2 separate regions of the Homo sapiens genome follow, and region 1 is linked to region 2. Evidence: promoter capture Hi-C in human tissues and cell types (Jung and others, 2019). All regions are on one chromosome and are shown on one strand. Each heading gives the region's core, a stretch centred on a gene start or on the middle of the fragment in contact. The rest is flanking DNA. Distances are from core to core; before and after follow the strand shown. Region 1 has its middle 5.7 kb from the start of LIN28B. Region 2 holds the start of POPDC3 (popeye domain cAMP effector 3).

Evidence for each region. Contacts are between HindIII fragments. The study calls those that stand out against the background at their distance.
Region 1: a contact is called between a fragment that was not itself captured here and the fragment with the promoter of POPDC3 in region 2, in 1 of the 25 tissues and cell types used here (H1 embryonic stem cells).

The regions. Positions count from the first base shown.
Region 1 is chr6:104,949,374-104,953,494 of GRCh38, forward strand. It overlaps a transcript of LIN28B not described here. Among named protein-coding and RNA genes, the nearest start is that of LIN28B, 5.7 kb to the right of the region's middle. The HindIII fragment of the contact is 5,482 bases long and covers 1-4,121 here.
Region 2 is chr6:105,178,063-105,182,280 of GRCh38, forward strand. It overlaps POPDC3 (popeye domain cAMP effector 3), which reads right to left and starts at 1,952. Exons shown (of 4, transcript NM_022361.5): 1 at 1,771-1,952. The HindIII fragment of the contact is 10,229 bases long and covers 1-4,218 here.

The DNA.
Region 1 (4,121 bases), core at 1,375-3,874, 230 kb before region 2:
ACAGAGGTTCACGTGCCTTTTGTTCACATTCTTCCTCTATTCTTTTCAAATCTAACTCGGTGGGATTGTCATCCTTTGTAAAAAGAACCTTGGGTCAACATTCAGTAGAACCCTGCACTTGGAAAAGTCTCCATTTCCTTTTGAGAAGAAAATTAGATTGCAACTTAAATAATTTGCACAGAATGGTTTTACTTATTTTTTGTGAGTTGATATAGTAGGTCTAGTGTGTAAAACTTAGTTAAGGAAAGACAACTCTGGGTGTAGCAGGTGAGTGCATGCATGTTCACACCAATCTGTTTTGCAAACCTTAATAACTGACCCAAGGATAAAAACAATAATTTAGTAGTCACCAGGAGTTCCTCTTCCAATCACTATACTTGATTACTGTGTGGCCTCTTTATTGCAAGTTTTATTGTGTTGTGGCATCTGCCAATGGATGTATTAGAAACATCAATATTTACTCATATTTAAAAAATGAGAACTGTTTGCTTTTTAAAAAACATTAACCCATTTAAAAATATAAGTTAAAATGCATATTAGATATTTAAAAATATACTTAATGATTAAATGTATTACCATTAATGTAATTTTTCATTCACTTGACTGCAACAGCCCCAATATCTATTTTATAGTACCATCGTTAGATTCTCATGATTTATCTTCTGAAATATATCTGAAGAGAATAGTCAAAGAAGTTAGTTCTTCAAGAAACATGATATTCTAGGTTAAGTAGATTTTAACTGTGCTTGGAAAAAATACTAGTATTTTAAAATTACAGTGTAAAATTAAATATTAAAATTTAAACTGCATTGTTCGTGATATTGGGATCTTTTGACTGCATCTTAATGGTCTTAAATGTTGTAAATGTTCTTTAAACTAGTGTCCTCTACTAGATATAAAAGGCAAGTATATGCCAATTGGTTATCTAATTTTGCTAGGTGAGTCTTAAACTGTAAAAAAAAGTTTACAGGTCTCTTCACAGAGTCAAAACCTGGGCATTTTATTGCTTTCTAATGGCCATTAGGATGAAGAAGAGGCAATTAAATAGGCAATTAATGTAGTACTGACTTGAGCTCTCTGATTTTAGGTTCTTCAGAAGAGGATGAGGTCATTCAACCAGGTTTCATCAGCCCCAGGTTAGTCTTTTTTTTTTTTTTTAAATATTTTGTTTAATTAATGTTTTAAAAGATCAAGATCGCTAGAGGCATATGAGAACCTGACAGCCCTCAGGAATTCTCCATCCTTTCTACTTTGGCAAGACAGGTACCAAGTCCTCCTATACTTCGTCCTGATCACTCCATCTAAAAAACTGGTGTTCCCATAAGAATTACGTGGACAACCTCTTCTAATTAACCCCTTTCCCCCCACCCCCACTTTTAGCAGTATTGTATTTTGTGATTCCTTTTTCTGTAACTCAAGCAGCATAGATAACAGATATTTAAATGCTTATGGAGATGAATGAAAAGTATTCATGGTTTGTTCATTTTTGTAACTCCCAAAGTAAAATATGCACTAACGAATATCTGCTGAACTAAATTAAAAATGGAGACATGGTGCTGTTTTAAAATAATTTATCATAACAGAAATAGCACAATATATTAGACATTTTGAGGAAATTTTTCTTATCTAGGAAGCTCTGTGTTGCTTTTCATAAACATATATCAGAATTTGCTCCTCGTTTTCATATGACAAAGCTGAGTCATTTGAACTTTAATATTTTAAACCCAGACTTTTGACATGCTTTCTTATATTATTAAAATTAACTTAAAAGTTATAGCACCATTTTTTAGTAACAATCTTATTTGATGATAATTTATTACTCTGGCTTGACCATACCACTTTGAAGGCACACATAGGAGCTGTGATATTGCAAAGTATATGAATATTAATAATAACTACAAGTAAAATGATGTTATTCTGTTATTAAACTTTTCAAATATAGGATTGTGAGTAGCAAGAGGAAAGCAGTAAGGATCAAAAAGTTGGATGAGGAAACCATGATAGGATTTCCATTTGAGAAACTGCTTTTTTTTTGGAGTGAATCTTGACATAGGGGTGATACTCTAATATCATGAAAAAGAAGATTCTCAAAAGTTGGTACAAATGTTTTAGTATACCACCTAGTTTCCTCTTATTATTGTTTTCATTTATTAATTTTTTATTTTTTTCCCCTTATTATCGACTGTGGTTTTCTGTTGGGGCCAGTTCAGAGACCTTTTTCTTTTCTGTTGGGAAATAATGTTAACACCAATGTGTTAAGTGACTGCAATAAAGTTTCATGTCTGTATTTCCTTGTGATTAAAAAGGATCGGAGGGGAAAGGTACAACTTTCACCAGAAGAATGGTTATTTCTAGAGATTACATTTCAAGTTAAAAGACTTTGAATATTTGCTGGTCCAGTTTCCTCACTTTACAGATGAAGAAACTGAGTTCCAGAGAAGTTTAGTGATTAGCCCAAGGCCACAGATTGGTAAATAGGACCAGAATTGGTAAATAGGACCAGAATTCTGGCCTCCATTTTCTAGCTGGGCTTTTTCTCCACAGATTTGCTTCTCACACATGCTGATTTGCTTCAGGCATCTTTAAAGCCTGAAGATTTCTTTTAACTTGTCTCATCTTTTACCCTGCCACTCTTCTTTCCTTTTTCATTTCTGATATACTTGCCCTCTCCCCTCAAATAAACCCAAAGGGTAAATATTGAAATAAATACCTGGGAGACAGTCCACATTCTTATTTCAGTTGATTATTTCTTTTGATGAAATAGAGCTTTAAAGAATACTTTTATTCATTGCTTGAGGGAGGAAGAAAGAATAGTATATTAACATTATTTAGTGTTTGCTCCACAGACTCATGGTATTTATTGCAAAAAGACCTTTAAATTAGGAAACATACATGTTCAAGTAGTACAGTTGAAAAATACTTTCATTTTGCAGCTAAAACATGAAGCTTCCTTTTGTGCCATTCTGGGCAAAGTAATGTAAAACTTAGTACTAAATGATTTTTCTAGCCTGTTACTATTCTAATTAAAGTAATTTAAGAAAGTATTTGTTGAGCACAGTTTGGAAAATATTTTTCCTGCTTATTGGGAGAGAAGTATGTTAATGTAATAGGATTTTTGCTATTCCAGGTTTTTAAAAAGATACTTTCTACAGCTATTATGTATAATTTTTAAAAAAAGTTAAAAAATTCTTTCTTCAGAATGTTAGTCTTAAAATAATGCTCCTTTTCTGAATTTTGTTGTAAATATTTTGCTGAAACATAACTGACCAAAAAGAAGGAAGCATTTGCAAATTTTGAAATGTAAAGGGAAATTTTGAAATATAAAGGCAAATTTTGAAATATAAAGGCAATTTGTGTGGAAAACTTAAAATTTATGCTAATCCGTTTCTGTATTTCCATAATTTTACTTTATTATTCTGGGGAAAGTGTGTTAAGGTATTTAATGAAAGTCTCGAGAGATTTTTACCTCTGTATAAAAATTCTAACGTTGGACCAATTGTGTGAAGCCAGAGCATTTTGCCTCCAGACAAGGAAATTAAATGAGAATAGAATTTTGCTTTTTGGAAACAAAAGCAAAGCGACCCAACTATATTCTGAAGTGCCTCTGCTGCAAGACCCAAGCACCCAGTCGGGCGCGCCTTGCATTTGTCTCCATGTCGTAGGAATGTCAAGAAAGTTACCGCCAAGTGGTTTACCAAAACGCGGCGGAAGGAATCAGGACAGTTTGCCCGACGGGCGGGTCGGCGGCTTTCAGGCGGGAGAGATCTTGCCAGGGGCAGAGAGAGATCCCGAAAATCGCCCCCAGCCTTGCGTCCAGCCCTTTCTCGCCGACGTTTTTTCTTGATCCTCCGAAGGCCCAGGGCGACGTTTGCCATCGCGGCTTCCCGAAAGGACGGCGCCGGGTTTGCTGGAAGACAGCTCAGTTTTAGGCATGGCCCGGTGGGGGTGGGGGTGCTCATTTTCTTGGGTTCGGATTCCCTCTCTTTGACCGCACTTATCTTAGCTTTAGGAGATTCTGGCATCTCATAGGAAAAGGGATCAAATTATAAGTGATATACGTCTGGAAATTCAGTAAAAATAGTAGGTTGTGCGTAGTGTTTTTGCCATAGTAGTGAAGGCAG
Region 2 (4,218 bases), core at 702-3,201:
TCTATTAATTGGAGGGACATTCTCTCGAGGGAGCTCATAATCCCAACTGACCAATGACCATAATTACAAAATGTGATCTCAACTGCAGTTTACAGACTTTCAGATCTATCATGGATATTTCCAAAGCAGTTTTGAAATTTCTTGCCTGCCATGTTGCTTATGTGTTATGCTCACATACTGTAGCAAATGCTTCATAACATTCTTAATTCTTCCTGGAGACTGTTTCAAAATAAGCAGGCATCAGTGCTCTAGTGTGTCAACCGTATTAGTCAGTCTTGTGGTGAAAAGTATGGGACTTTTGTTTCCCATGACACATTTTTATTTAATAGCATAGAATGTAACCATTTAGAGGCAGAAGATGCACCATGATTCAGCTATTTTGAGGGACTGATATGATTAAAGAAACTCAACTATCAAATATTTCCCATTTAAATGTATAAAATTTTGAGGACAGAGAATATCTTAGATTTCAATTAATATTTGTATCCCAAACTCCTGAAGACACACACACACACACACACACACACACACACACACACACACACACAGATTTTTCAGGACAGAACCTCAGAGATATCTGGAATCTGGGATCAGCCAGAGCTCTTCATTTTGCGAATATGGAAACTGAGATCCAATTTTTTGTTTATATTTTCTGTCTCATGTAGTTCTTGTTTGGTTTTCTATTGTCACAAAGAACAATGCCAAGTTATTGTACTCTCACAAGAGGATATTTTCATGCAACAGTCCGTAGAATTAAAAACAAGAAGGAAAAAAAATAGCCACTAAACTTAGTATGAACAGGCAACAATAATTTTTTAAGGCTGCTATAAAACTCAATTGCAGTTTGTAGGCTTGCAAATTCAAAATATCTAACTACCGGAATTAGAGTGAAAAGTCAGGAAGCAACGAAGTTTAGTAAATCAAATTGCGTCCAAAAGTGGGCTTCTAATTCTACTTTTCCATTTATTATTTACAAACAGAATTTTTCACTTTCTGCAAATGTCTTCTGGCTAAATTTTTGGCACTGCCCCTCTTACTGTATTTTGGTTGTGCCTTTCATCTTTGCCTAAAATACAGACCCTCAAAACTATACCACTGTAACCGACATGGTGATAAGACAATTTAGGGGTTGGCAAATTTCTTTTTTGGCAGGGGGATCCCCAAATGGAGAAAACAGGTCCGCGCGACCTTTGATGAGGCAGCTTTTTTGTACCCCCAACTCTGTGAGAACAGTGTGAGAGCACTGACACCAGTCAGGCCCTTTGCTTACAGACCGGGGGCGGGAGTAGGGGGGAAGGAAACTCCCGGCGCTGGCATGACTTCCCCAGGACTGACAAGGGCCCCTAGGAACGGCTTTTCTCCCTTGCAAAACTGGCCTGTTTATTTCGGCTCCAGGGTGCCTGGGGCCAGAGTAGGACCTGCAGGAAAAGATCTGGGAGGAATATTCGCCCAGAAGCCTCTAGGGCATACGACTCGCGTTCTTCAGGGGTCGGCGCGGATAGGAACCGCAGCAAAGGATCCCCTAGACCTCCGAGCTGTGAGCGGCGACACAGCCGGGACCCCAGACCCCGGACCCCAGGGCGCGGAGTTGACCGGAGCCGGGAAGGGAGCGGCGCGGGCAGCGCGGGGCAGCGAGACGCAAGCGCTCGCAGGGGTCGGCGGCCCAGCAGAAGCCGCGCCCGCTAAGTTGCCCGAAGCGGCCGCGAGGTGCGAGGGTGCGGACAGCACCGGAAGGCGGCGGACGCAGCGCCCCCGGGCTCACCTTCTTACCTTTCCTTCCCAGCCCTGCCCGGAGCTTCAGCCCGGCGCCCGCAGAAGTTTCCCGGCGGAGCGCGCTTGACCCGGGTGGCCCGCGCGGAAGCCCTCAGCGTCCCCCTCGTGAGTGCCTCGCCGCCCACCCTGCGGCGCCGGGCGCAGCGTGACCGCAGCGGGCTCCGGAGCGGCGCGGCGGCGCGGGCGGGTGCCGGGCACGGGCGCGCGCCCCGGGGCGCAGCCGGGTGGGCGGGCGCGGCGGCTGCGTCTGGGCCGGGGCAGGCGGTTCGGCCACCGGGGTGCGGGGCTGCGGAGAATCCTAGCGGCCGCTACGGACCGAAGTTTCCAAAGATGCGGTTCCCCGAGTGTACACCGCTCCCGGTTGTAACATACACCTAGTATTCACAGTCACACTAGGCAGGAGCGATGGGCTGGCTGCTGAACCAAGGCAACTGCACGCCTGCTCTCTCACCCCCGCTCCACACACACCGTAAACAAAATGAAGAGGTAAATCACCATAGTGGGGACGGGAATATTAGGGTGTATTGGACAGAGAGAGAGAGAGAGAGAGGTAAATATAGTATTTTTTTTTTTTTTAGAGATGGTGTCTCGCTCTGTCACCCAGGCTGGAGTGCAGTGGTGATCACGGCTCACTGCAATCTCGACCTCCTGGGCCCAGGCATCCTCCTGACTCAGCCTCCTAAAGCTTAGGATTGCAGATGTGAGCCACCGCACCCAACCAATAAATACGGACTGTTGCATGAAAAATAAAATATCTATATTCAAATCAATGAACATCTCTAAAAGCAAATGAGTAAAGGGCATAGACAATCATAAAAGGAAAAAATTTAAAAACACAAATGACAAAAAGCTCATATCAGTAATAACCAAATGCATACAATTTTAAAGCAATGATCAGGTGCATTTTTTCTTCCTTTGCAATTAGCAAAGTTTTGTTTTGTTTTTGTGATGAAACAAATGTGAGGGTTGGTGACGACCAGTAAAACACGCCACTAATTTAAGAATGTCATCTCCTGTCTTCTAGTTCGCTTTCATTTTATATAACCATATTGATAACAGCGACTCCAGGAACAAGAATTTATTGAGCAATCAGTGTCTTTTTTGAGCCCCAGGGTAACCACAAAAACAGTGAATATAGATGGTAAAATTAACTCCCTTTAATTGATGCTGGAACTGAGGATCAAGAAATACACATATTCTTACACCCCAGAAATGGCTAGAAACCAGTTGACTCCTAGGCCTTTGCTCTTTCTCTTCATTGCAGGGATTTACTCAAATGTTGGAAATCCAGTTTGAACTGGATGTAGTCCATAGTGTGTGTGTGTGTGTGTGTGTGTGTGTGTGTGTGTGTATATATATGTATATATATATATATACACACACACACACCTTTAAACTATGGCCAGGGAAGTGAGAAGCCCATGAACTTTGAGGTCAGATGTACTCTGGATTTAGATTTTACTTGTTTAGTGTCCTACATTTTAAAAATTTAAGGATTATATTACTGTTATTTTTAATTTAAAAACTCAGAAGCTGTTACTGTTGCCCTGGATTCTTATGATCTCCCATGATAGAGATTAACAGAGATCACCAAACATAGCAGCAAAGGAAAGTGTATTCAGCTTGTGCGCAAGGGAGTCAGCACCAAGAAAGGCAAAGGAACGGACTGCTCTGAGGATAGTGTGTGGGTCAGTTTTATAGGGTCTTTCTATAGGGGAGGGTTACATCAGGGCACCTATAGGAGGAGTTTTTCTAGTGCTTGCACAGTGGCCCAATATGCTTTTTCATACATCATATGTAGCATTAGCATTTTAAATCTCCACCCCAGGAGTAATTTTTAGCATTAAAGTGAGGAAGGGGTAAATGTAGGTTGGAGTTTAAGTCTAACTGTACAGGCGGGGATCTGGGGAAGTCCCTAGCCCTCTGAAATAGGAGCTTGCAGTTAACAGCTTCTTGGGTGTTTTGTTACCTATTGACTGAGAGTTAGATAAGCTAGAGCTTGAGTAAGGAGCTTTTATCCTTTTTCACCACACCATCTTAAAATAGCTTTCCTGTCTCAATGCAACAAAGATATCCCTGTGTGACAGATTCTTCAGTGGCCCCAATAGTTTCTGATTCCCAGTACCTGTTCATGTTCATACCTGTGTTAGATCCCCTCCTCCTAAGAGGGGTTGGGACCTGTGACTTGCTTCTGAAAATAAATATAACAAAGGTGATGGATATCACTCCCATGACCACATTACATTATAAAAGACTGTCTCTTATGAACAGACTCTCTCTAGAGACTGTCCGGTCTGGCCTGATGAAGGCAGTGGCCATGCTTGGAAAGTCCACATGGTGAGGAACCATGGGCAGCCTCTAGGAGCTGAAAGGCAGCTTCCGGCCCATAGCCAGCCAGCAAGAAGTCCTACAAACTCCAGGAAATGAATTCTGTCAACAGCCTAA